Linked DNA regions of Homo sapiens: region 2 is linked to region 1. The links are contacts of gene promoters, found by promoter capture Hi-C in human tissues and cell types (Jung and others, 2019). All regions are on one chromosome and are shown on one strand. Each heading gives the region's core, a stretch centred on a gene start or on the middle of the fragment in contact. The rest is flanking DNA. Distances are from core to core; before and after follow the strand shown.

Region 1 (6,561 bases), core at 2,216-4,715:
GAACACTTGTCTCTTCTAGATAAATACTTCCATCTAATGAGACCATTTAAAGTTACCATATAGTACAGCATTTTAGTGGATGGCACAAAATGGAAAAATCAAATTTCCTACCCCCACTGCACTAATATATAGAAACCATATTCCTTTAACTTCTATCAGGAACCAAATACTAGCCACTGTCGAACAGATGATGCCAGGACACCATACCGTCCCCTTCTTAAGACACTTGTCTGTTTCCAGAACACTACCACCTATTCTCTTTACATAGCTGGTTTCTCACCTTCAGGTCTCGGTTAACTATCTCCTCCTGGAGAGACCTTCCCTGATTTAGCCATCTAATGTGACTTTCCCTACCACTCTCCAACTTCATCCTACACCTCAGCATCCTGATTGTTTCTCTCACAGCACTTATAATTTGTCATCTTTTCTCCCCCTCTCAGACTAGACTAAGTGCCAAGAGTACAGGGACTTGTCTTGTGTCCTGGTGTATCCCAGCACCTGGGATGTTAAATAGCATCATAACAATCATTCAATACCTATTTACTAAATGAATGCTAGTGTCAGAGGCTAAAAAAACACCTCCAGAGAGTTCAGATGTTCAGCCTACAAAGGGGGCAACAGGCCTTGGAAGCATTAACCTCCCCAGATCTTACCAACTGGATCATAATGCAAAAGAGTCAGTTTTTCCCGCAGTCGGTTTCTCTTGGTGTTGAAGCAGAAACCTGTCCCAGCTTCGCTCACCATTCTCACCAGAATGTTTCTAAGATTAAAAAGTACGCTGTTATGTACGAGCTGACGAAATAAACTAAAATCAGTCACAGGGGGATGGCACATTTTGAGAACTCTGTAGGGTAATATTAGTTGTGAGATATCACTTGGCCCTAAAAGGTTCAGTTGTAAGACAGCCTAAGTTTTCCATGAAACAGTTTCAATGGTTTCAAATCTCTAGGATTTGCTCCACTACACAGAGTTACTTCGCAATGACCTAACCAAAACAATAAGAACAATCAAGCCACATTGCGGGACTAGCCTCAGACATCCACCCTTCACGAGGAGCAGAAGTCAGGAAGGGGAAAATATCAAAATACTGGTAACCACAGCTGGCTAGTGAGGAAATTGTAAAGATCGCTGTCTCAGAACAGCCCTCTCTTCCAGGGCATAAATGATTATATTCAGGAAGGGACAAAATAAAGAGACTAAAGCTTTTAGTTTGCTAATGCGCAAAACCTTGTGCCCCTTCATATTTCATTTAAGTTCCACTCATCCAAAGCAGAAAGTCCATGTTTGCCTCACCAGATCTTTTAATACCTGTACTGTTTGTTATTTTTTCATGTGTCTTGTCTCCCCATGTAGACCATGTTATTTTATTTCTCATGTAATTCCAAAACAACCTGGAAGCATCTAAGACTATATTACACACCACTGCATTGCTTTCAACATTCAGCACAGTGCCTCATAAGAGGCATACAGTATTTGTTTGTAATTAAGATAGACAATAATTATTCAACACAGATTCAACAAATATTAAGCACTTACTCTGTGGAAGGCACTCTGGGAAATACAAAGCTCTACAAGTCTATGTCTATGTCCTCTAGGAGCTAACAGTACTGTATGGAAGGTGAGTTGGTACATGAGGTCAATCAGGCAAGACATATATGAAATATGTCACAAGGGTAGAAAGAACGAGAGTCAGAATATACCTCTACAGAAACCAAAGGCAAGAGATTCCTATAGATCCCTGGGGCAGGGAATTTTGACATAAATAACTGGACTGTGGCGAAAGCTACGTGAATCACTGAAAGATACTGGGAGGGAAAGCGCTAACATACATGTTTTTCATTAACGTTAATCCAAAAGACTAGCTTTAAGGATTTTCAATGTCTTGAGTTGCAAGGAAAAGCTGCTTTAGAACCTCCCTATTTTTACCACAAAATCTTCTGTTATTGTCTACAACATTTATTTTGAAATACAAGTTTGGTAGTTCTAGTCTCTCTGGTACAGCATGGAATCTTTAATCTTGGCTATTTTTGAAATGCTTATACCATGAATGCAAAGGATTACAAAACTCATTAAAACAGACTATGATTTAATCAAAGCAGAGTTTGTTCTTCTGGATTCCCGTAGTGAGCTCCAGACACATGGCCCCTGGTCCTCGATTTGAGGAAATGGAAATATGGTGGTAGTCCAAATACAGCACAGCCCAATGGTTTGTTTAGAAACAGACAGTGAGCTCACAAATCCTGGGACTAGAAAAGCAGCAAAGGTTCCTTCAAGTATTTCAATGCTCACAGAAGTAGCTCAGTTCAGCAGGAGGGAAAATATTTTTGAAAGAGTTCATAAAGAAAAAATAATCAACTAAGTAATCCACAAACCAACTCTTAGGAAATCAAGGCCCAATGCTTAATTTCATATAAGGATGTACTGGGAGCAGCTAGACTAACAAATCCAACATAAACAAGTGACGTTTAAAAAAGGAAAAATCTTTACTTACTTTGACTTGCTCTTGGCAACTTTTTTGTAGACAGGAAGGGTTGGAAAAGAAAATAAAAATATAAATGTATTCTCTTTCTTATGCAAAGTTCATATAAATATCAGTAATAACCAAAAATATTTAACTTATGAAATATGCCATGAGGTGTCACTCAAGTAACTATTCCCTATCTATTAGGGATCCCCTTAGGATTTTATAGAAGGAAGGTTAAAAGATCCAATCAGACCAACACAATTCTAGATTTAATATTTTGCATAATTTCATGACTGTTGGACTGGCTACCTTTTAAATCTTTCTAAAGTAATACCTGCTCCATTTTTTCCCTCTTCTAAGGTGCAAGTATTCGCGCTGCAGCAAGCTTCTTGTTTGACAAGTTTAACCTTTGCAAATTACAACAACCATCACATGTGGTGAAAACCAGATACTAAATCTAACTGGGAAGTCAGCCAAGGGTAAAGAAGAGCACTGACTCGGGAGCCCGAGGACTTCTTTAACTGCCCTGCCGCATTACTCAGGCAATTCATTGCCCCTCTCGGGAGCGGTTTCCTTATTTTTAGAGTTCGAAATAGGTGGGCTGCAAATTCTGAGGTCCTTCGGACAAAGATTCTCCTAACACGGGCTGGAGAAAAACGCCCCACAGCCAGACTCAACGGTCCGTGAGGACGGCAATTGAATCCAGACACCGCAGACCCCTTCTCAGGCACCCACAGGTCCGCGCAGGGAGGCGCGCCGCGGGGCATGCCGGACGCTGTGGTCCTGAAGGCCTGGAAAAGTACGCAGCTGCAGCTTCCCGTCCTGTTCGCACATCCTTCCCCGCATCATTCCGGGGCCCTGCCTGTCACGGCCCCCTAACCCTCGCCGTAACCCCTACCGGCGTCTCCAGCCCCACTTACAGAAGACCGCGGAGAGGAACATGGTGACCACACCTGGGCAGTCTCCGTCACCGGCCAAAAGGCCCCCAACCAACAACAACTGCTTCCGGGGCACGGCCCGGTTCTGGAAGAGGACATCCGGCAGTCGCCCGAGGCCACGCCCCCCGCCTGGAACCTGCCTCCAGTCGTCTGGCTCGTTCCTCGGTTTCTCAGAGCGAGTGTGTTTTGCTTTTGTCGTGCTGGAGGTTGGAATCCTCATCATTCTGGAAAGGGATTTACAGCTCAGGGTTCGCGCCCCGGCCCTGACTCCTATTTCTGGGTCAAGTGCTTTCAGCGTTAGGTGCTTTCCATATTTGTTTCACGAAATAATCGCAACCACCTGCATTAGACCCACAAGAACAACTGTGTATTGTACTTCGGCCGCTCCAGCGTATCAGCCCCTCGCATATTTTCTTAAAATGTTGCCTCCCCCGACCCAACTCCCTCTCCGCCTGGTTAAGCCTTACTCTCACTCTTCTGAGTCCCTTCGGCATTAAGAACCCCACCTTTCCTTAGTTATCCCAATCTCTAGGAGGGCAGGACCCTTTGCATCTCAAACTTCTGTATCCAAACACCTAGCACAGTTCCTGACATAGAAGCCAAATAACAGATTGAGAGCATTCACATCACGTGCCTAATATCACAGAACTACCAGGTGGCAGAGTAAGAATTTAAACCTAGATTTTATCTGACTCCAAAGACTCATGCCTTTCCCAGTAGACATTGGGACCTACCAGTTTGCAATCATTAATTTTTCATGGCTCTGTAAGGAACCTGGGCTCCTCTAACACCAAGGACCTCGTCAGTAACCTCATTTCGCAACTAATAATCAGGACTTTTGGATTTTTTTCCTAATCCGTGATTTGTATCTACATATGAAGTCTTACAGATGTGAAATAAGATTTAATCGCATGGCTCACGCCTGTAATCCCAGCCCTTTGGGAGGCTGAGGCAGGCAGATCACTTGAGGTCACGAGTTTGAGACCAGCCTGGCCAACGTCGCGGAATCCCGCCTGTACTAAAAATACAAAAATTAGCTGAACCCGGGAGGCGGAGGTTGCAGTGAGCCGAGATAGCGCCACTGCACTCCAGCCTGGGCGACAAAGTGAGACTCCGTCTCAAAAAAAAAAAAAAAAAAAAGTAATAAAACTGTTTTAAAGAAAATTCAGCTCTCTGTGCCATCACAAAGAAGATGAGGAGGAAAAAAATCAGCTCTCCATACAATACAATTCAATTTTTTAAATTAAGACCGTCCTTCTCCTTAGTACCTATAATACTTTTTTTCCTTCTAATCATTCTTGATATTTATCTTCCCATAACCGGACTCCAGCTACTGAGTACCTTCCAGGTGCCGAAATCCTTCCTTACCTTGCATTGGCAAAAAAGAGCTTCAGATGTTCAAGAGGATAAGGTTTCTTATATTTCCTTTAGAGGATTTATAAGAAAACACAAGACTGGAAGCCAAGGAACATGATTTCTAGTCCTTGTTCTGTCCCTTAGAAAGTCACTTTAACTTTAGCCCAGCCAAATAGCAGTTCTTAAACTCCATGCCCCTGCCCCCAACTCTATTCTCCTTACTCTTCTTTATGTTTTCCTACAGCACTTATTGCCATTAATAGTATTACTTGTGTACTTGTTGATTTCCCTATTGTCTTTGGCTACCAGAATGCTGGGCAACAGCAAAACCCTGTCTCTAAAAAAATTTTTTTAATTAAAAAAAAGAACTTCAGCTTATTCCCTCACTGCTGTATCCCTGGTTCCTACAACAATGCCTGCTACATCTATTAAATATCTATTGAATGAATGAATCTGAGGTGAGAGGCACCATACAAATGTCAATATTTATGTTTAAATAGCAAAAAAAAAAAAACTAACTTTAAGTATTGTCAATAGTTTCAGGATCCAGGAGAATGTATAAGCTTGCTTTTGAAAAGAGCCAGGTGCAGTGGGTCACTCCTGCAATCCCAGTATTTTGGGAGGCCGACGAGGGTAGATCACCTGAGGTCAGGAGTTTGAGACCAGCCTGGCCAACATGGCGAAACCCCATCTCTACTAAAAAATAACACAACTGGCCGGGCGCGGTGGCTCACACCTGTAATCCCAGCACTTTGGGAGGCCGAGGCAGGTGAATCACGAGGTCAGGAAATTGAGACCATCCTGGCTAACATGGTGAAACCCCATCTCTACTAAAAATACAAAAAAAAAAAAAAAAAAAAATTAGCCGGGTGTGGTGGCGGGTGCCTGTAGTCCCAGCTACTCGGGAGGCTGAGGCAGGAGAATGGCGTGAACCTGGGAGGTGTAGCCTGCAGTGAGCCAAGATCGCACCACTGCACTCCAGGCTGGGCGACTGAGCAAGACTCCGTCTCAAAAATAACTTAAAAAAAAAAATTAGCCAGATGTGGGCGCCTGTAATTCCAGCTACTCAGGATGCAGAGGCAGGAGAATTGCTTGAACCTGGGAGGCAGAGGTTGCATTGAGCCAAGGTAGCAGCACTGCACCCCAGCGTGGGCAACAGAGGGAGTCTCCATGTCAAGAGAGGAGAGGGGAGAGGGGAGAGGAAGAAAAGAGATAGCATATGAACTATTTCTTGAAATTCTTGAAGGAGTAGGCTGGAGGCAGTGACTCTCTAGCCTCAGGAGTTCATGTTGCATCCACCTGTTATTTATACCTAATATAGCTGGCAGTTGGTAAGTGTTAATTAAAATGTTTATTATAATACAGATGTAATTCATGATTTGGGGCTTTTTTCCTTGAATTTACATAATGAGCCCTCTATGCCTTATTAGAGGAAAGTGCATAACAATTAGAGCATCCTGGCAGCCCAAATGGAAAAAGTGTAGTCCTTAGAGAAGGGGCACCCTCTTTGGGAGGTGGGGTGCTACAGGGAGGAGAAGATCAAGCTGTTTAACCTAGATTCTCAGCCCGGAGAAGCAGATAGAGGAAGAGAACATCTGCTCTGGGTCAGGGCTCCATACACAGCATCTGTATTGGGTTGGTAGACACTGTATTCCCAGCACTTAGTGATGGGATTCAAACCCGAGGATCTAGAAGCTGTACCCCTCCTCCTCTGCTGTGCTGGCAGACCCCTGGCTGCCCATCATCCAGCCCATTGTCACACCTACATCTTGCTTGACTTGTGATTGGGAAGTACAGCCACTG
Region 2 (6,561 bases), core at 1,917-4,416, 330 kb before region 1:
AGAAAAAAAACTTAAGTTTTTCAACTCATGGCCTGTGCTTTTCCCACTGCAATCCAGTAGCTCCCTAGGTCCATGGCACCACGCTCTTCATTGTGGGAGAGACAAAGATGAATGAGGCAAGTTCTCAGAGAAGTATTTCTGCCTTCTCTTCTTCATACCACAGTCAGTATCTTCTGCCTCTTCCCTCTTACTAGGACTCTCTCACATACTAGTTTTCATCAGTGGGTAAGTCCAGGGACATTATTTAATCTACCTTTTTCCTCATTGAAGAGATGCTAAAGCAATACTTTTTTTTTTGACATCACAAACTGAATTTACTTTATTATTATTATGTTTTATTATACTTTAAGTTCTAGGGTACATGCGCACAATGTGCAGGTTTGTTACATATGTATACATGTGCCATGTTGGTGTGCTGCACCCATTAACTCGTCATTTACATTAGGTATATCCCCTAATGCTATCCCTCCCCCATCCCCCCACCCCACAACAGGCCCCGATGTGTGATGTTCCCCTTCCTGTGTCCAAGTGTTCTCATTGTTCAATTCCCACCTATGAGTGAGAACATGCAGTGTTTGGTTTTTTGTCCTTGTGATAGTTTGCTGAGAAGGACGGTTTCCAGCTTCATCCATGTCCCTACAAAGGACATGAACTCATCATTTTTTATGGCTGCACAGTATTCCATGGTGTATAAGTGCCAAATTTTCTTAATCCAGTCTATCATTGATGGACATTTGGGTTGGTTCCAAGTCTTTGCTATTGTGAATAGTGCCACAATAAACATACGTGTGCATGTGTCTTTATAGCAGCATGATTTATAATCCTTTGGGTATATACCCAGTAATGGGATGGCTGGGTCAAATGGTATTTCTAGTTCTAGATCCCTAAGGAATCGCCACACTGTCTTCCACAATGGTTGAACTAGTTTACAGTCCCACCAACAGTGTAAAAGTGTTCCTATTTCTCCACATCCTCTCCAGCACCTGTTGTTTCCTGACTTTTTAATGATCACCATTCTAACTGGCGTGAGATGGTATCTCATTGTGGTTTTGATTTACATTTCTCTGATGGCCAGTGATGGTGAGCATTTTTTCATGTGTTTTTTGGCTGCATAAATGTCTTCTTTTGAGAAGTGTCTGTTCATATCCTTCGCCCACTTTTTGATGGGGTTGTTTGTTTTTTTCTTGTAAATTTGAGTTCTTTGTAGATTCTGGATATTAGCCCTTTGTCAAAAGAGTAGATTGCAAAAATTTTCTCCCATTCTGTAGGTTGCCTGTTCACTCTGATGGTAGTTTCTTTTGCTGTGCAGAAGCTCTTCAGTTTAATTAGATCCCATTTGTCAATTTTGGCTTTTGTTGCCATTGCTTTTGGTGTTTTAGTCATGAAGTCCTTGCCCATGCCTATGTCCTGAATGGTATTGCCTAGGTTTTCTTCCAGGGTTTTTATGGTTTTAGGTCTAACATTTAAGTCTTTAATCCATCTTGAATTAATTAGCAATTCTAAAGATTTACAAATGTGCCTCAGAATATAAGGGTTAAAAAAATGAGTTTATTGAGTTTATGATAACCACTTAGCTAAAACTGGAAAGAAAAAATGACATAGGAGGAGTATAAAGATAAACAGTACGATCTGTGAATAATTTGATGTTGGATAAGAAAAGCCAAAGGCCAACCTAGGAACTATTAGGAGTTCTGGACAACTAAACTGCTGACTCCCAAATTTCTAATGTCTCACTTGGTAGAAGAGATCACCTAAGAAGCTCTCATAAAGAGCAGAAATGGGACTGTTGCTCTCTGGAGAAACAATGGGACCTTTTCATCTCTGTGAGGAGTACACTATTCTTCCCACTTCAGTGATGGTTGAAAAGAAACTGACTCCTCGATAAAAACAGAGTGGGGATAATAAGACACCACTTTATGCCAGGTGCAGTGGCTCACGCCTGTCATCCCAACACTTTGGGAGGCTGAGATGGGAGGATGGATTGAACCCTGGAGTTCGAGGCCAGCCTGGGCAACATGGCAAAACCCCATCTCCACAAAAAATACAAAAATTAGCCGAGCATGGTGGCATGTGTCTATAGTGTCAGCTACTAGGCTAAGATGGCAGGATCAATTGAACCCAGGAGATTGTGGCTCTAGTGATATGTGATCACACCACTGTACTCCAGCCTGAGCCAGGATCAAGAACCTGTCTAAAAAACAAAACAAAACAAAACAAAACAAAAATACTAAGTAAATAATGAATTCTCTCAACTCAGCTCACAATACAAAGTAGGACACGTTGAATATCACTTTCATAATTCTGCTTCATCCATCTGGAACACTGGCTATAAGGCCTTACTAGAACTTTGAGAAGCTTACTGAGTAAATTTTTTTTTTTTTTTACTCAATAAGTTCAAGTATTGAGTAAATTTTCCCAAAAAACAAATACTCTAAAATGAAAGATATCACATCAGGACCATATAATTACTTTCAGCATTTTATGAAAAGGATAAAGGAAACCCTCCTCATAAAACAAAACAAAAAACTATAGGCCGTTTATAGATTACTCAAACTGACATAATTCAGTTTGTAAAATCATTATTTTATTACATGATTCCTATATAAAATCATTATTTTAACATAGGAACTTATAAGAAAACTCAATGCAGTTATGTTTCTTGTGGTTAGTACTGTGTCAGAGAGGGCAGTGGCTTTGGTTTACCTCCAATGGTCTCTCTCAAAAACACCAACTGACTGAGTCTATTCCTGGAATTGCTCTAACCTCCCCTAGTATTTTGTCTGTTCGCACATTGTAATGCACAAGGAACAGTGGTAACATGTGAAATAAGTTCAAAGACCCCAAAGTGGAAGACACTGTTTTCCTGCATCCTACCTACTGTAACTGAAAACTGGGAATTTACTGGAATTGAGAATTTATTATGAGTCAGATGGCTGATAGCCTTTCCAACCAAAACATCTGCTCTACAAAGGCACAACTGCTCCAATCCATTTCCTCTTGGATCTGGAGAATGACCAAGTTGTAGCTTAGCCCTTTCCTTAAAGACACAGGGGCTTGAAATGAAAATGAAATAAAAGTGGATCTCTATGTCACCTTCCAAATTCTACTACTCTTAAATGGTATTAAAATGTAACAAAATATGAGAATAAGTATGTTTTAGACATTAAAAAAATTGCAGTCGGTTCAGTGGAGTAACCAAGGATTTTTATCAGATCATTCAAATTTACAACGGCACAGCTGAAACCAATTCTTTCTCTGGTATTGAGGGAAAAAGGGACATGTATTACCCAAGCACAGTGAAAAAGCGTTTCATTATTCATTTATTTATTCAAAAAATATTCACTGTGCACTTCTACGTGTCAGGCACTATTCTAGGAACAACTGGTGAACAAGCTAGATAATGGCCCTCCTCTTAGAGCCTACCTTTCAGCAGGGGATGACGAATAAACAAGTCAGCCAATTCATAAATAGCCTTCAAAACACTATAGGAGTTATCTTGTTTCCAATGGTTTATTTACAACAATTGATACCAAGATTTTTTTCTAGCAACTACAGAGAGCTACTGCAGTGGTTCAAGTTCTAGCATTTGTTAAAAAACACACATTCCTGAACCCTGCCCTGGGGATTATGATTCAGTAAGTGTGGGTAAGTCAAGGAAATATGATTTTTTAACTTACAAGGGGATTGAACTGCCCATCCAGGTTTGGGGTCTATTGCCTTAGAGCAATAAAAAAATGTGTGAGCTTCCTATCAATATGTTTATATGTATTTATTTATAAGCTATATAGATGAACCTATGTACTAATACATTATGAACATCATAAAACATGCACAAACAGTAGAAATTCTAAGAGGGTGAGATAAAAATCAACACAACTGTATGGCTTACTATATGGGGCATGTTAGGAGGTCTGCAGGTTCCCCACATGGACTGGGGATAGGACAACCACAGGTGAGGCCCTGTAATTCACAGCTTGGAAAGACAGACTCTATCTCAGCCCTCACTCTGCTCCATAACTTACATGGGTGCAGAGAACTAGGCAGAGGAGCATTAAAATTATCATCATCTCAGTGACAAGAATTTGGGAGGCCCTGTGTCTCACTTCACATGCCAACATATACCTGCCCATTCTTGTTAACACACACCAAATATGGTAAAACCAGATCTAAAAAAAGACAAACTCTGTCATAGGTTCGGCAGCCATAACCCTGTTGTGTCAGCTGTTTGAATCATGTGTGAATGAGTCCATGCATGCTAGATATCAGGCAATATGGTAGAGTAGAAAGATCACAGACTTTGGAGTTAGACAGACTAGTGAGAATCATAGCTTCATCGCTTACTGGCTATGTCAACCTGGCTGGATAAGTTATTTAAAACCTGGATGAGTCTATTTCCTCAACTATAAAATGAGAAGTTATAAAACTGCTGTATCAGTAATAGTAGCCACCATTATTGGCACTGTTATCCCAGATCATCTTGGGACTATCTGACCCACCTGTTCCCTGCTATCTGTGGACACTGGGCTTTGCCTGCTTCCCTGGAAATGATACCTATCTGTTGCCTTCTCTGTATGTAAACTCTGTTGTCAAATCCTTGCCTGTCTGTACAAAACCAATTTCTTCCTCCTGACCATGATGAATGAGTACCTCCACAACAGCTGCCCCCTTAGAACCTACTCGCTCCTGGCCAGGCCCACATACATGCCCTTGACTTTGAATTCAGTGTTACGCCTCATGGACCAACAGCCCACACTTGCCCCTTCATTTGGCATCGAGCTTTCTAGTCGTTATGCTTCTGCAGGCACAAAATCTCAACAAGTAGCAACTTCTCTCTTCTAGTCATGGTCTCCTTTCCAGTGTCTCTTGTTTGTGCTTCCTGATATTATTATTTGAATAGTTACATGTACTGAAATCATTTATTGAGTTTGGAGATTAGAAGGCGATACACAAAAGAATCTGCTCACAACGGCAGGAACGGGCATACACATATACACAAAAGCATAGTTTTTCAACTAGGTGACTTTTAAAAGTCAGGCAGCCATCTTTTTTTTTTTTTTTTTTTTGGAGACAGAGTCTCTCGCTCTGTCACCCAGGCTGGAGTGCAGTGGCACGGTCTCGTCTCACTGCAACCTCCACCTCCCAGGTTCAAGCGATTCTCCTGCTTCAGCCTCCCAAGGAGCTGGGATTACAGGCACGCGCCACCACACCCGGTTAATTTTTTATGTTTTTGATAGAGATGGGGTTTTACCATGTTGGCCAGGCTGGTCTCGAACTCCTGACCTCAAGTGATTGGCATCCCCACCCGCCCCCAGCCTCCCAAAGTGCTGGGACTACAGGTGTGAGCCACTGTGCCTGGCCAAGGCAGCCATCTTAAGAAAACTCAGGCCTCTTAAAGAAAAAATCAAAACAATTAAAAATCTATCTAAAATAATTTAGAAAAAGAGAAAATAATCAATATCAAACCAAAATTAGAAAAGACAAAAAACAAAATGAAGAGCAAAAGTAAAAATAAGCTAAGTACATGCAGCAACACAAAAGACAGAAAAATTCACATTAAATCAAGACTATACGTTAGAAATTTTTTTTTAATTAGGGCATTATAAATCCTGATTATATGCTAGTAAATTTGGTAGTTAAATGTAAATAGATAAAAATTCAAGACCACAAGAGGATAAAAGAGAGGTATCGGGAAATAGCAAACCTGAATGGACAACTTACAACAACAGAGTGAAATGTTATTAGGATTACTGTTTTCAAAGATGCCTATAGCCAATGAGTTTGTTGGAGAATGTTTTGGAACTTTCCAAAAATAGGTAAGAATGTTATGCTTTTCAATCTACCTCATAAGGCAAATATAGTCTTATTTTCCAAAAACAGACAAGATATGCACAATGATTTTTTATGAGTATGGCTATAATAACTAAATAAAAACCCTAGTAAATAGAAAAAAAGATCACATTAAAATAATTTTCCTATGAACAAGCAGAGTTTTGTTCTTGTACTGCATAACTAGACACAAGGAAAACAATATAATTCATCACGCAAAGAGGGACAGTATAGAAATCATATCGTTAATGCAACAAGTGCTTATAGAAAACTGCAACACCCATTCTGAGCCCTTTGGCAAAGCAAACACACTACAACCAGGTTGTCAGGTTCTCCCCAAGAGGCCTCGGGGTGTGCAGTTTATGTTCTTGGTGGACAGAGTTTGGCCTTCTGGGCACAGAAACTCAATTCTGTCTGCATACCAATTGCACAGCCATGGCTCAAGGGAAGGTGGCATTATACAGCCAGAATGCTAACTCATTAGTTTACTATCAAAATTAATTTGGTACTAAAATTCTCTATGTTCGTATGGTTACTGCATTCTTTCCCTGTAAGAAGTCAATTTATTACTTTGTAATAATAAATCACAGTCACAAGGATGGAATGAATACTCCAAACCCCTAAGATCAGTGTATTATCTTCCTATGAGAAAGGCTTATGTGGGTTTCTGAGTGAACAAGAGATCAAAACAAGGGGAGTTAGAGGAACTGCCTTTTAATAGAGTCTGAGATCCTA

Evidence for each region. Contacts are between HindIII fragments. The study calls those that stand out against the background at their distance.
Region 2: a contact is called between a fragment that was not itself captured here and the fragment with the promoter of MRPL33 in region 1, in 1 of the 25 tissues and cell types used here (dorsolateral prefrontal cortex).

The regions. Positions count from the first base shown.
Region 1 is chr2:27,768,623-27,775,183 of GRCh38, reverse strand. MRPL33 (mitochondrial ribosomal protein L33) reads right to left here and starts at 3,465. Exons shown (of 4, transcript NM_004891.4): 1 at 3,385-3,465; 2 at 2,492-2,510; 3 at 654-760. The coding sequence starts at 3,406. RefSeq lists enhancers at 3,284-3,413, 2,654-3,470, 3,704-3,823. The HindIII fragment of the contact is 4,142 bases long and covers 2,027-6,168 here.
Region 2 is chr2:28,098,965-28,105,525 of GRCh38, reverse strand. The region is part of intron 6 of BABAM2 (BRISC and BRCA1 A complex member 2); the gene reads right to left. Among named protein-coding and RNA genes, the nearest start is that of MIR4263, 110 kb to the right of the region's middle. The HindIII fragment of the contact is 5,252 bases long and covers 541-5,792 here.